2 separate regions of the Homo sapiens genome follow, and region 2 is linked to region 1. The links are contacts of gene promoters, found by promoter capture Hi-C in blood cells and fetal thymus (Javierre and others, 2016). All regions are on one chromosome and are shown on one strand. Each heading gives the region's core, a stretch centred on a gene start or on the middle of the fragment in contact. The rest is flanking DNA. Distances are from core to core; before and after follow the strand shown. Region 1 holds the start of STAR (steroidogenic acute regulatory protein). Region 2 has its middle 77 kb from the start of TACC1.

What was found. Contacts are between HindIII fragments. The CHiCAGO score rates a contact against its expected background, and 5 or more counts as called.
Region 2: a contact is called between a fragment that was not itself captured here and the fragment with the promoter of STAR in region 1, in 1 of 17 cell types (endothelial precursors). The highest score is 6.0, in endothelial precursors.

The regions. Positions count from the first base shown.
Region 1 is chr8:38,149,234-38,156,734 of GRCh38, reverse strand. STAR (steroidogenic acute regulatory protein) reads left to right here and starts at 5,783. Exons shown (of 7, transcript NM_000349.3): 1 at 5,783-5,980. The coding sequence starts at 5,917. It overlaps LOC105379382 (a long non-coding RNA gene), which reads right to left and starts at 396. Exons shown (of 2, transcript XR_949687.2): 1 at 311-396. RefSeq lists enhancers at 2,235-3,220, 5,264-5,296, 5,645-5,944 and a promoter at 4,495-5,810. The HindIII fragment of the contact is 1,310 bases long and covers 4,500-5,809 here.
Region 2 is chr8:38,706,443-38,713,943 of GRCh38, reverse strand. No RefSeq gene overlaps it. Among named protein-coding and RNA genes, the nearest start is that of TACC1, 77 kb to the left of the region's middle. The HindIII fragment of the contact is 1,829 bases long and covers 3,042-4,870 here.

The DNA.
Region 1 (7,501 bases), core at 4,534-7,033:
CTATAAGTTTTAACAACTGAGTATAGTTATGTAACCACTATCACGATCAAGATACAGAATATTTTCATCACTCCTGCCCTGTGTATTTCTTTCCTCCTTTCCAGCCCCTGGATAACACTGATCTATTTTCTGTCCCTATAGTTTACAGTGGCAATGAATTCAAAGTGTTCTTAAAATGGTGTGTAGGTCAAATTAAATATTGTGAGGGCTAAATTCAGTTTGTTCTTCTGGTTTAGGTGATTACAAAAGACCAAATGCTCTATGTTCTCTGCCAAAATTCCTGGGAAAGGAAATCAAAAGTCGGGCTTACCTGCTTGAAATGGTGGGTGAGGGGGGGAAACAAGAGACTCCAACAGAATTTAAAGTTGAGTAAGCATCCATCACCCTAAAATTTATTGACTGCTAGATGGCAGCCAGGCATATGCTAAGATGCAACTATTAGCCCCACTTTTCACAGAGAGAGACAGGAGATTTTAAAAGGTTAACCCAGCCAGGCCCGGTGGCTCATGCCTGTAATCCCAGAGCTTTGGGAGGCTGAGGCAGGAGGATCGCTTGAGCCCAGGAGCTGAAGACCAGCCAGGGCAACATAGTGATATCCTGTCTCTACAAAAAATAATGAAATTAGCTGGGCATGGTGGTGCACACCTATAATCTCAGCTATCTGGGAGGCTAAGCTGGAAGGATCTCTTAAACCTGGGAGATTGAGGCTGCAGTCAACTGGGATTGTACCACTGCACTCCAGCCTGGGCAATAGAGCAAGACCTTGTCTCAAAAAAAAAAAAAAAAAAAAAAAAAGGGCTGGCACAGTGGCTCACGCCTATAATCTCAGCACTTTGGGAGGCCAAGGTGGGTGGATCCCAAGGTCAGGAGTTCAAGACCAGCCTGCCCAACATGATAAAACCCCATCTCTACTAAAAATACAAAAATTAGCCAAGTGTGGTGGTGCGTGCCTGTAATCCCAGCTACTCGGGAGGCTGAGGCAGGAGAATCCTGGGAGGCGGAGGTTGCAGTGAGCCGAAATTGTGCCATTGCACTCCAGCCTGGGTAAGACAGCGAGACTCCGTTTCAAAAAAAAAAAGTAAAACAAGGAGAAATTGGCAAGAGTCTTATTTATACTGTGATAAATATTTATCAAGGTGGGGCCAAAAGGTAAAATATTGGATCTTTTTTTTTTTTTTTTTGAGACGGAGTTTTGCTTTGCTCTTGTTGCCCAGGCTAGAGTGCAATGGCGCGATCTCGGCTCACCACAACCTCCACCGCCCAGGTTCAAGCAATTCTCCCGCCTCAGCCTCCCAAGTACCTGGGATTACAGGCATGCGCCATCATGCCTGGCTAATTTTTTTTGTATTTTTAGTAAAGACGGGGTTTCTCCATGTTGGTCAGGCTGGTCTCGAACTCCTGACCTCAGGTGATCCGCCCACCTCGGCCTCCCAAAGTGCTAGGATTACAGGCATGAGCCACCATGCCGGGCCAAAATATTGGATTCTAATTAAAGAGTAGGGTGAGGAAAGGCACAGAGGACAGCCTCTGAGGGGAGACTGCACTGCAAGTATCCCTGGAACAGAGAAGGTATGCACAGGATGGATGGCAGCAGGCACCACAGGGAGAGCTGAGCACTGCTGGGTAGAATCCAGGTGAGAACTGGAATGGCCAAATTGGAATTGTGCTAAGAATTCTGGACTTTATCTTGTGAGGTATTGATGTATTGTTACCTCATTTAAACCTTATAACTAACCTGAGAGGATGAAGAAAATAAAAAGAGGCTGGGCGTTGTGGCTCACGCCTGTAATCCCAGCACTTTGGGAGGCTGAGGCCACGTGGAATGGCCCAAGCTTCCCCTGACAGCCAGCTCGCAGCCCTCAGAGTCTCCTCCAAGCTGCTGGCCATCTGCTCTACCTGGGACACCCTTACCCCATCAACTCTCTATTTTCAACCCCCTCCACAAACCTAGCTAACTCCCATTCGTATTTTCCAGAAGCCTTCCGTAACATTCCTCCCTCCCTCCCCCATAGAATTAGAGGTTCCATCATCTCTACTTCCAAAACACCTCATCTGCTCTACGACTGTCCATACTGGGTCTATGGTTCAACTCATATTGTCCTAACTTTAGAGCCACATAGAGACATTCAGGAAAGGACTGTTGAATGAATGGAGGGAGGGAGGGAGAGAGGGAGGGAGGGAGAGAGGGAGGGAGGGAGGGAGAGAGGGAGGGAGGGAGGGAGGGAGGAAGGAAGGAAGGAAGGAAGGAAGGAAGGAAGGAAGGAAGGAAGGAAGGAATCCCCTTTTTTGCTCCAAAGCCCTGGCTCTCTCGCCTGGCCTGGGGGCCTTCCTCTCCAGCATGGCACATCCACACCACCTGAGCTGGCCTCCTGGCTCTCCTCCCCCATGGCCTGCCATGGTCATCTGGCCTCCTTTCTTGGAAGCTCTGCCCTCATCAAAAAGCAGAGCCAGATACAGATGGTCCAGAACCAGAGGAAATTCCCAGACCTCTCTCGCCACTTTACTGCTCAGAGGGATGGAGAGAGTTAATGAGTCATTCTGCCTGGAAAGGATGAGGGAGAGAGCCTTGGCCCTTGCAGAGGTCACCCAGCACCACCTCCCAACCACCCCCTCCCAGGAGTCAATGGCAGCCTCTGACATCAGCCACAGCCATAGGCTCTATCCTCCGTCTCCCACACCACCTCCACCCCTTTCAGAATGGCCATAATTCTCCACAGGAAGGCAGCAGCAGGGCCTTGATCATCATCTGCATGGCCTGTCCCATAATAACCGCCTTCCCCCTCCCCCCACCTCGCTGAGGCAGGCCTGCAGACACACATGTGCAGGAGAGGCACATGCCCCAGCAGATCAGAGGGAGGAGCCGGGGGAGCTGGCACCCCACCTGCCCAGCTCATCCACTGCACCTCCTCTCTGAAAGGTAGAGGGCCTAGGCACAGGCTGGCGACGGGGGAGAGGCCCTGCTGTCTTCCTTGGGGACTGAGGGCTGGAAACAATGCCTTCAGGCAGGTTTCCTGAGTCTAAAGATATACCTGCACCCCTAGCTGCTTTCCCAGTTGGTCACTCAATAGAGAAGGAGCACACCAGGCACAGTGGCTCACTTTGGGAGGCCGAGGCAGGAGGATGGCTTGACCCCAGGAGTTCAAGACCAGCCTGGGTAACATAGCAAGACCCCGTCTCTATTTTTAAAAATTAAAAAAAAAAAAAGTTTTAATAGAGAAGGAGCAAGAGTCCCCTGTGTCTCTGCTGGAGGTGAGTGCTGAGGGTGGGGACAGCTTTTAAGGGGGAAAGTGGACCCAGCACCTGCCTTGGGGAGATAATTCCACAGAAGAGACAAGCAAACACATACAAACCATTCAACAAATCAGGACCAGAACTAAGCCCCTCAAGTGATACTGACAGTAAGGGTGTGGTGGGAGGAGCCAGCATTCCAGAAGACCAGGATGGTCTAGGAAGGTTTCCTGGAGGAGGTTTTGAGGAAGGGGCCGGGTACCTCTAGGCAGCCTCTGCTCACAGGATTCCCCGACTGCATCACCGGGGTGGAAATCGGGGGCCAGGGGGGTGACTCCCCTGTTCTATATGGGCTCCAAGTGCCAGGCCTGGCTCTGAGCAGATCCTGTCCCTTTCACCCTGTCTGGTGTTGGGGAGACAGCGAGAGTGCATGGGGCCCCGGCACTGCTCCCCATTTTTAGGGCTCCCCTCTGCCTCTGTGAGGTGGTGGCAGGACACAGAACTCCCTCCCACAGGGAGCAGGGCCTGGGCCAGGGGCAGTTCCAGTGTGAGTTTTTCCACTCCCAATATTCTTGCCCAGTGAATCTGGCTTAAAAGCAGCCTCAAGGTCACTGTAAAGGGAAGAGATTCCGTCAGAGTCAGAGCCCAGCACGTGCTGCGCCTGGGTAAGGGTGAGTGGGAAATGCAGAGGCCTCGTGGGGCCTTGCTCAGCCTGACAGGGCCCCTAAAGTGCAAAGACTAGGGTGAACACCCCAACGCCCTGTCTTTTCTTTTTTTCCTTTTTTTTTTTTTGCAACAGAGTCTCGCGCTCTGTCATCCAGGCTGGAATGCAATGGTGTGATCTCAGATCACTGCAACCTCTACCTCCCAAGTTCAAGCAATTCTGCCTCAGCCTCCTGAGTAGCTGGGATTACAGGTGCCTGCCACTATGCCTGGCTAATTTTTGTTTTTTTGTTTTTGTTTTTGTTTTGAGACGGAGTCTTGCTCTGTCACCCAGGCTGGAGTACAGTGGCTTTATCTTGGCTCACTGCAACCTCTGCCTCCCGGGTTCAAGTGATTATCCTGCCTCAGTCTCCTGAGTAGCTGGGATTATAGGCATACGCTACCACTCCCGGCTAATTTTTGTATTGTCAGTAGAGACGAGGTTTCACCATGTTGGTCAGGCTGGTCTCAAACTCCTGACCTTGTGATTTGCCCGCCTCAGCCTCCCAAAGTGCTGGGATTACAGGCATGAGCCACTGTGCCCAGCCCATGCCCTGTCTTTTCAAGCTTTCTGCACATACCAAGACCCCCAGCCCAGCTCACTCAGACAAAGCTACTGGCGGGAAAGTGTGAGGAAGGGTGTGGGCGTGGCCCAGGCCCTCCTCTTCTCTCTGCCGTATACTGATAGGGCTGCCCCGCCCCCCCCCGCCCCCCCGCGACTCAGCCACGAGAGGTCATCCTTGCTCCAGCACAGACCCCTAAGAACCCTCACTCGGAACAGGACTTTGGGAAAGGTGGTTTCTATAAATAGATGAGTAAATAAATTGACAGTTGAATATACCAAGCGTCCTGGGGACCGCAGGAGGAACTGTGTACAGATGGCTTGAAGGCCAGAGGCTTGGGTTGTTGTCCTGGCCCTGCCACTGGCCAGCTGTTTGACCTTGAACAAGTCAGTTCCACTCTGTGGACTTCAGGGTCCTCACCCAGAAGAAGAGCAGCCATATGGTCTCTACTGCCTGGTAAACACCCTGGCTCACTCTCGCGAGACGGTGGTTCTCAAAGTGTAGTGTGTAGTCCACACAACACCTGCATTGCAACCACTGGGTATTTATTTATTTATTTATTTAATTTATTTATTTATGACGGAGTCTCACTCTGTCGCCCAGGATGGAGTGCAGTGGCACGATCTTGGCTTACTGCAACCTCTGCCTCCTGGGTTCAAGTGATTCTCATGCCTCAGCCTCCCGAGTAGCTGGGACTACAGGTGCCTGCCACATCACCCGGCTAATTTTTTGTATTTTTAGTAGAGATGAGGTTTCACCATGTTGGCCATGCTGGTCTCGAACGCCTGACCTCAAGTGATCTGCCCACCTCGGCCTCCCAAAGTGCTGGGGTTACAGGCGTAAGCCACCGCGCCTGGCCAAGGGAAGTTTTTTTCTTTTCTTTTTTTCTTTTTTCTTTTCTTTTCCTTCTTTTTTTTTTTTTTTTTTTTTTTTTTTTTTTTTTTTAACACAGGTTTCTGAGCCTCAATTCCAGATCAGCTGAGCCTGGAGTTTCTGAAGACAAGGGCTAGAAATCTGCACTTTAAAGTCTTGAAAACCACTGTGTGCCTTCATCTAAGCTGCCCCTGCTTCTCTCCCCTCCATCCCTCGCCTGGCCCTGTCCTCCCTACTCTCCCCTGCACCCTCCCCCGCCCCAAGCTCCCCACAAACGGCCAAAGCAGCAGTGTGAGGCAATCGCTCTATCCTTGACCCCTTCCTTTGCACAGTGAGTGATGGCGTTTTTATCTCCTGATGATGATGCACAGCCTTCAGCGGGGGACATTTAAGACGCAGAACACCAGGTCCAGGCTGCAGCTGCGGGACTCAGAGGCGAAGCTTGAGGGGCTCAGGAAGGACGAAGAACCACCCTTGAGAGAAGAGGCAGCAGCAGCGGCGGCAGCAGCAGCGGCAGCGACCCCACCACTGCCACATTTGCCAGGAAACAATGCTGCTAGCGACATTCAAGCTGTGCGCTGGGAGCTCCTACAGACACATGCGCAACATGAAGGGTGAGCGCTGCGGGAAGGAGGCGATGAGGGGTTGGCCAGCTCTCAGCGGATGAGGCTCAGGCCACCCAATTCTGATCCTAGTTGTGCCTCTTACTGGGTGAACCTGGGCAAGTTTCTTCCCTTCTTGAATCTCAGTTTTCCCCTCGGAAGAAGTGGGCTGGTTACTAAGATATATCCCTTCCAGATTCTATAATTTCTGGTCTCCCCTCCAGGACTCCAATCTTTTTTTCTCCTTTTCTTTCATTTTTATTCTTTTTCTTTCTTCCTTCCCTCCTTCCTTTCCTTTCTTTCTTCCTTTCTTCCTTCCCCTTTTCCTTCATTCGTTCTTTTTTTCTTCCGCCTTTTCTTTTTTTTTTGTTTGAATAAAGGTCTCTGTCACAGAGGCTGGAGTACAGTAGAACAATCATAGCTCACTGCAGCCTCAAACTCATGGGCTCAAGCCATCCTCCCACCTCAGCCTCTTGAGTACCTGGGACTACAGGCGTGCACCACCACAACCAGCTAGTTTTATTTATTTATTTTTATTTTTATTTTTTTTAGAGACAATGTCTTGCTATATTGGTCACGCTGGTCTTGACCCCCTGGGCTCAAGGGATTCTCCCACCTTGGCCTCCCAAAGTGCTGGGATTACAGGTGTGAGCCGCCACACCTGGCTTACTTTATTTTGAGATGGAGTCTCACTCTGTTGCCCAGCCTGGAGCGCAGTGGCACGATCTCGGCTCACTGCAACCTCCGCCTCCTGGGTAGCTGGGATTACAGGTGCATGCCACCACGCCTGGCTAGTTTTTGTATTTTTAGTAGAGACAGGGTTTCGCCACGTCGACCAGACTGGTCTTGAACTCCTGACCTCAGGTGATCTGCCTCCCAAACTGCTGGGATTATAGGCATGAGCCATGGCGCTCAGCCTATTTTATTTTTGAGGCAGTCTCGCTCTGTTGCCTAGGCTGGAGTGCACTGGCGCTATCTTGGCTCACTGCAGCCTCTGCGTCCTGGGTTCAAGCAATTCTCCTGCCTCAGCCTCCTGAGTGGCTGGGACCACAGGCGTGCACCACCATGCCTGGCCATCTTTCTTGAACTATTCCTGACTTTGCCTTCCTTCAGAGCTGGACAAGTCTTGTAGCAGGGGTACACAGGAAAGTCTTGCCCACAGTGGCAGAGTAAATATTAGACTTGACTCCCACAGGCAAAAAAAGACGGAGAAGAGACATAGGGGAGTAAGACAGGAGGGCAAGGTAAAGAGATAAGACGGAAGACTGATTATCATTGAATAGCCAGGAAGGGGCAGAAACCAGCTACAAGAGGCCACTTTTGTAGAGCTGATTCGCATCCAAGGTCATTTGAATCAATCCCCTGCTGCCACTGAAGGGTACACAAGTCAATCTAGGCACGATCTTTCCAATTACACTGGATTGAATTAGCTACCTTTAGAGCGAGAAGCCATGCTTAGATCTGCAGCTGGCAGTGGTGTTGTCGTCCTCACTAGATGGACAGGGCTTCCCTGGCCCAGAATCCAGGGGCACA
Region 2 (7,501 bases), core at 2,707-5,206, 560 kb before region 1:
GGAGAAAGCTAGAACTCAAGCCCAGTTCAACTCTGTGTTTTCCTTTCTGCCCTTGGATACCTTCCTACCAGTCTTGCTCAATTTGGGCACTCCTGACATTTTGGACTGGAAATTTTTGTTGCTGTGGGGGGCTGTCCTGTGCATTGTGAGGGGCTGTCCAGAATCCCTGGCCTCTACACCAAATTGCTAGCAGTCGTCACTCCCCGTCTCAGTTGTGACAACAGAAAATGTCTACAAACATTGCCAAATGTTTGGGGGAGGTAGAAGGAGAAGGTAACAACATTGGCCTGGTTTGAGAGCCACTAAACCAAACCAGCCATGGAATAGATGCCGTGGAGTCTAGCCGTGAACTGTTGTCCAGGAGGCGGCTGGGGAGGAATTCACAAATGTTCCCAGCACAGGATCTGGCAATTTCTGTGTAAACTTTTCTTCCAGTGATATTTAATTTTTTTATCATCTCCAAATGGTAATCGTTTGCAAATTAAGTGGTGTTTATCCTCCTGGCTATGAACTCTTAACAGAGTGCAGGAGCTTTTTTGTTTTGTTTTCTTTTGGTGTGTATGTGTGTGTTTTCTGGTCTGCACGGTTCTCAGTCCCTCAGAACCATTTATTTCCTTTTATTGTTGTTTTCCTCACTTGGCTTCCCCGCTCCACCAGACAGGCTTAATAACTGGCAATCATCACATCGCAGGGCAAAGCAGTCGGCAGCCACCCCCGCAACGGAGGAATCAGAGCCTGAATGCTCTGGAACTATTGCCTCTTTTGTTTTTCCAGGCAGACTCCAGTTTTGTCTCTTGACTATCCCTGAATAAAGAGAATCTTAAAACATCATGTGGCTGCAAATGGCTTCACATAAGCTGGAAGGAGCAATAAACAGGAAGTCCACAGCAAAGGAGAAATAAAAATGATCAGTCAATTAGGCTGTGAGAATGACTTCACTGAGCGCCCCCCCACCTCCACCTCCAAGGCATCTTTGGAGGAAACTGGGCTGCATTAATCAGGCCTGGGCAGGCAGGCCCCAGAGCAGAGCTGCCAGGAGGGAAGGCCTGCAGTGAGCCAGCGATGGGGAGTGAGTGCCACACCACTTCCAGAGCCAAAGATCTGCCAGGAGGGGCAGGACAATGTGGCCCACATGCGGTGAGCAAATCATCCAGCCAAGTTGCAAAACTTCCATGACACTCTTTTATCCTGTCCTGGGGTGGGATGAGAGGCCCCACGATGAGGAATGAACACAATTGCCCCGGTGCTGCAGCCCACACCTGGCTGCTCTGGTGACACTCTGGACTCTCACATTCAGACAGGACCCCCCACAGTGTTCTTGAGCCATCTTGGCCCCGAGAGTCCCATGTCTAGGGAACTTGCTGCCCTTCCCAGCCACCACCAGTGCCTATGGCTTATATGCCCAGGTATCCTGACCCAGTGATGCCCCTCCAGAGCAGGAATCATCACCACGATAAGTTAGGCCCGGCTCCACCCTACCCAGGAGGCCTTCCTGAAAACAGCATCACAGAGAATTCGGAGGACAACATAGCTACTGCTTTGATGTCGGGCTTAAAGAGAAAGCATGCCTCCTAAAGCAGAGAGAGAGGAGAGAAAGAGATAATCAGCCTCTCGGTGTCTCATTTCATGAAGAGGGTCAGATTGTACAAATGGGGAGTTAAATAAAAAAGGATGTAGGAGGAGGTTCAAACTAATTTGAGGTCAGAAAAGTGAGAAACATATTTTTAGTTTCTAAGACCACCTAAAGAAGGCAGGGTAGTCCAGGCGTGGTGGCTCACTTCTGTAATCCCAGCACTTGGGGAGGTTGAGGCGGGAGGATTGCCTGAGCTCAGGAGTTTGAGACCAGCCTGGGCAACAAGGTGGAACCACATCTCTAAAAAAAAAAAAAAAAAATAGCCAGGTATGGTGGTGCATGCCTATAGTTCCAGCTACTTGTGGGGCTGAGGCGGGAGGCTCTCTTGAGCCCAGGAGATCAAGGCTGCAGTGAGCCAAGATCATGCCACTGCACTCCAGCCTGGGTGACAGAGCAAGACTGGGTCTCAAAAAAAAAAAAAAAAAAAAAAACCAGGGTATACCACATGTAGAATATTATGATTTAAAAGTAGTTCCCTCTCCAATCCTAGTTCCTCTAGTCCATCTTATTTTATTTATTTATTTATTTAAGAATGAGTTTCGCTCTTGTTGCCCAGGCTGGAGTACAGCAACACCATCTCAGCTCACTGCAACCTCTGCCTTCTGGGTTCAAGCGATTCTCCTGCCTCAGCCTCCCACGTAGCTGGGACTACAGGCACCCACCACCATGCCTGGCTAATTTTTGCATTTTTAGCAGAGATGGGGTTTCACCATGTTGGTCAGGCTGGTCTCGAACTCTTGACCTCAGGTGATCCACCCACCTCAGCCTCCCAAAGTGCTGGGATTATAGGCGTAAGCCACCACACCCGGCCTAGTCCACCTTATTTTATTGTGGCTACACTGTAAATCCATTCTGGAAGTGGCCAGGGTCATGTCTCTATACTAGGGGTTCAGCTGCAGATAGTGGGGAGCATTTCCAAGGAGGCCTGAGAGAAGGCAGGTGTTATGCATGATGCAAAACAGCAGGGTGATGGCAGAGCTCTGACCTCAATGCTCCTGAACTAGAGGTGGTCGTTAGGACTAGGTTGTTTTCCAACAGCTGACACCCCTGTGATTGGACCAAAGAGTTAGATATTTTAACCTAGTGTGTAAACGTGGTTAATCTCCGGCTTCTGTTTAAGCAATGGCCCATCTTCCTGGAAACATTCCTGCTCTCTGAGCCCTGGGATCTTGGAATAGAACCACTTGCCGGAAGTGGCCATTGCTGCTCCACCACTGTAGAAAAATCTCCTGCCCAGGTGCCCAGGCTTCTCTGTTTTATCAGCTGCTGCAAGATTCTCCATCACCTCCCCAAGCAGACCCAGCAGGAATCCAACCATTGCAAGCCTATCACTTTTCAACAACGTGGACACTTACATGGTAAGACTAGATCCACGTTATGCTGGAGTGAGGAGAGGCTCAGTAAAGCTTCCTATCTCCCAGAGAAGCTATGTGCTGAGAACTGACCCAGCCAGTTGTCCTGGACAGTAAGTGAATCAATCGGTAGAAGCCTCTGCTATGCGCCTGGGCTCTGTGTTCAGTACTGTAGTTTATACGAAAGAAGCCAAGAAAGATGTGGTCCTGCCGTCCGTGAAGTTGCACCCTAGTCTAACTCACAAGACTAACGAACATGTGGGCTGAGATCATACGATAAGGCCGCATGACCATTCTGGCCTTCGGTAAACCCAAGCCTGAACATATATCTAAAGCTATGGTGCTTCGTTAAATAATACTGCACATTGTTATTTAACTTTTCTTCTATGTCTTGTACCACCATAAGGTCATAAATTCCTCTAAAGTAGGAAGCACAACTTACCCTTTTTAGGGTCTCATGCATCCCCCCACCCCCTACAGCTTTCAGCACAGGTGCTTGTGATGTTGTTACTGGATGCTCTGGTGAGTATAATTGCGTGAAACACAATAGAATTGCAATAGGAGTTTGTGTACGGGAGTAATCTGGGTGGGCTGGGGTAGTTGGAGAGGGAGGCTTCCCTGGAACTACAAAGGGCAATTGACAGTAAAAATACCACAGTTTTTTTTTCTTTTCCTTTTGAAAGTAGTGATTAAAGACAACATTTAAAAAACTGTAAAAGTGTAAATATTCATTATAGAAACATGTCAAATGAAGAAAAATATAAAGAAGGAGATTCAAATCACGGGTAATTTCATTCCCAGAATGAGTGAGCTCACAGAATACATAATTATCAACTGTAACAAGTGCAGTGAAGAAAGAGACCAGCAAGAGAATAAATCTGAGAGACCTGATCTAGAATAGAGGAGGCCTCTCCCAGGATGCAACATTGAAGCTGAGACCTGAAGGATGAGCAGGGCTGAGATGGATGAAGAGAGAGAGAAGCACATAACAGGTGTGTTAAAGGATGCATTTCTTTAAGAAGCTAATTATGCTTGTAATCTCAGCACTTAGGGAGGCCGAGGTGGGCAGATCGCTTGAACCCAGGAGTTTGGGACCAGTCTGGGCAACATGGAGGAACCTCATCTTTACAAACACACACACACACACACACACACACACACACACACACACACACACACAAAATATTAGCTGGGCCTGGTGGCATGCACCTGTAAGTCCTAGCTACTCAGGAGGCTGAAGTAGGAGGATCACTTGAGCCTGGGAGGTCAAGGCTGCAGGGAGCCATGATTGCACCATTGCATTCCAGCCTGGGCCACAGAGTAAGACCCTCAAAAAAAAAAAAACAAAAAAAACCAGGTGAATCATCATAAGATGAACATCTGTCAAAGTTTTTATTTAATCTTTAACCTCATTAATGAATGAGGGAAACATTAAGATCTTACAACTGGTTCAAAGGCTAATTCAAAGTACCACACTTACATAGGTCAATCAAGAATGCTGAAATGAACATGTCAAAGATTCCAAATTCGGTGGATGAAGGGCAGTTGTCCCTCTGCTGGATAGAATGTATTGGCATATGGAAAATAATCCTTACATTGCTCTTAGTCATCTACAACTTGCAGAGTTGTCTCTAGCTCAGAAAATGAAAGATGGAGATGACCAGGAAGAGTAAGTCAGAATGCCTACAAATTCTTCCCCCATTTCAAAGCCTTTCAGAGTTTGTCCTGATGTGTGCAAATGTCCTGGGAAGGAAACAGCTTAAGAGAAATGAAAGAAGAGGAGGTTGCTGGGGTATAATGAGCCAGGAGGAGGGTGGTTGAGATAGGATTCATGGTGTACGTTCCCATTTGTGGGCTGTGTGTTTGTGTGTGTCAAGGTAAAGCTTATTTCTTCTTTATTTATTTATTTATTTATTTATTTATTTATTTATTTATTGAGACAGAGTCTCGTTCTGTTGCCCAGGCTGGAGTGCAGTGGTGCAATCTCGGCTCACTACATCCTCTGCCTCCAGGGTTCAAGCAATTCTCCTGCCTCAGCCTCCTGAGTACCTGAGATTACAGGTGCCCACTAACTCTTCCAGCTAATTTTTTTTTTTTTTTTTTTTTTTTTTTTTAGTGGAGACAGGGTTTCACTATATGTTGGCCAGGCTAGTCTTGAACTCCTGAACTCAAGTGATCCACCCACCTCAGCCTCCCAAAGTGCTGGGATTACAGGCATGAACCACCGTGCCCAGCCTCTTTTTTTTTTTTTTTTTAAGACCTAACTTTTTTAGGGCAGTTTTAGGTTCACAGCAAAATTGAGTGGAAAGTGCAGAGATTTCCCATACACCCACTGACCCCACATGCACCACCTCCCCATTATCCACATCCCTCACCACAGGGGTATATTTGTTACAACTGATGAACCTACATTGACATATCATTATAATTCAAATAGTGTAATTTATATTAGGGTTCACTGTTGGTGTTGTACATTCTGTTTAACTTTTATTATACATTGGAGAAGAAGGGAATGGCCTAATGCTAACAGACTCAGCAGAAAAACTCAGCAAGGCCTGTCTGCCTAGATTCTTCTTGGCCTCTCTGTGCAGAGCGCCTTCCTTCTGGGTATGGGGCAAGACACTGCTGGAATGGGAGTCTGATGACCTACAGCCAAACCAGGTAGGTCAGATTCTTTCTTTCTTTCTTTTTTTTTTTTTTTTTGAGATGGAGTTTTGCTCTTGTTGCTTAGGCTGGAGTGCAATGGCGTGGTCTTGGCTCACTGCAACCTCTACCTCCTCGGTTCAAGCGATCCTCCTGCCTCAGCCTCCCAAGTAGCTGGGATTACAGGCACCTGCCACCATGCCCAGCTAATTTTTATATTTTTAGTAGAGACAGGGTTTCACCATGTTGGCCAGGCTAGTCTTGAACTTCTGAGCTCAAGTGATCTGCCCACCTTGGCCTCCCAAAGTGCTGGGATTATGGGCATGAGCCACCGCTCCTGGCCAGATTATTCCTTTATGGCCAATTTTTACACAGAAGGCGGAGGGAAAGTTAGAGAGTAGTATTTTAGGTTTTATGGCTGGTTTGAGGGAAAGGGGTTCTGGTTTCTAAGACCTGCCAGGGTTTGGTCAAATGTAGGATGACATAATATATCCCTCATTGCATTATCATACAGAATATTTCTGCTGCCCTAAAAATCCTCTGTGTTCTGCCTATTCATTCCTCTCTCCCTTGTCTTTTTTTTTTTCGCTTAGCAATATAGGATAAACATTTTCTCATACCATCAAATATCCTTTTGAAGCCCAATTGTGAAAGCCTGCACCATTCCCTTGCAGTGGACACACCATAATGTATTAACTAAGGCCCTCAGTCCTCTTCATTTAAGTTGTTCCTATTTGAGATTCAGACACATTAGTCTTTGTTTTCATGAATCTCTGATGATTTCCCTAGGATAGATTTCTCTAAGTGGAAAGTCTATTCTAAAAGTGTTGATTAGCAAAAACTGCTTTCAAATGAAGTACTTTAGGAAAATATTGAGGTATGGAGAGGTAGCATCTTTGAGAGAGATGGAGACAGCATGAAGTGGGGCAGTTTTGGAGTCTGGATGTGTAGATTGGAAGAGGTGGGGGAGTAGAACGTGCCTCAAGGTATTGGGCTTGGGCTTTCCTTAGAGACAATGGGACATAGGCATATTTGGAAGAAGAACTAATTTGAGGGAAGAAGATAAATTTATTCAGGGACATGAAGGATTTGGGTTATTGGGGCTCAGAAAACGATACTTCAAAATGAAGGCCTCAGAAACAAAAGTTTTTCTCTGATCTTCTCTTGTCCTCCTGTCTCTCAGTCCCATCCTCCCGAGACTAGCCAGAGACACTAGAATCTAAGAACAACCCAAGGCAGGTCTTAGAAACCAGAACCCCTTCCCCCCAAAGCAAGCCATAAAAACTAAAAATATTACTCTCTAACTTTCCCCTTGCCTTCTGTTTAAAAATTTGCCATAAGGAAATTTTCCGACCTCCCTGATTGGACTGTAGGTCATAAGACCCCCTTTCCAGAAAGGGTCCTGCCCCAAACCCAGAAGGAAGGAGTGCTGCTCAGAGAGGCAAAGAAGACTCTAGACAGACAGTCCTTGCTTGGTGTTCCCACTCTGTCTATCAGCATTAGATGGTTCCCTTTTTGTCCAATCATATTATTGGACAATATTTAATATATTAATCATATATTAAATAAATGTGTATGCCTTTTCTCCAATTAATCTGCCTTCTGCAAGTTGATTTTTCAGCAAAACTTTTGAGGGCCAAGGGGAACCAGGGCGCACCTAGGGGCACAGGGGCAGAGTCTGGGCTGGAGAAGTGTATGAGTCCATTTTCACACTGCTATAAAGAACTTCCCAAGACTGGATAATTTATAAAGGAAAGAGGTTTATTTGACTCACAGTGCAGCATGGCTGGGGAGGCCTCAGGAAATTTACAATCATAGTGGAAGGTGAAGCAGGCATGTCTTACATGGCGGCAGGTGACAGAGAGCAAATGTG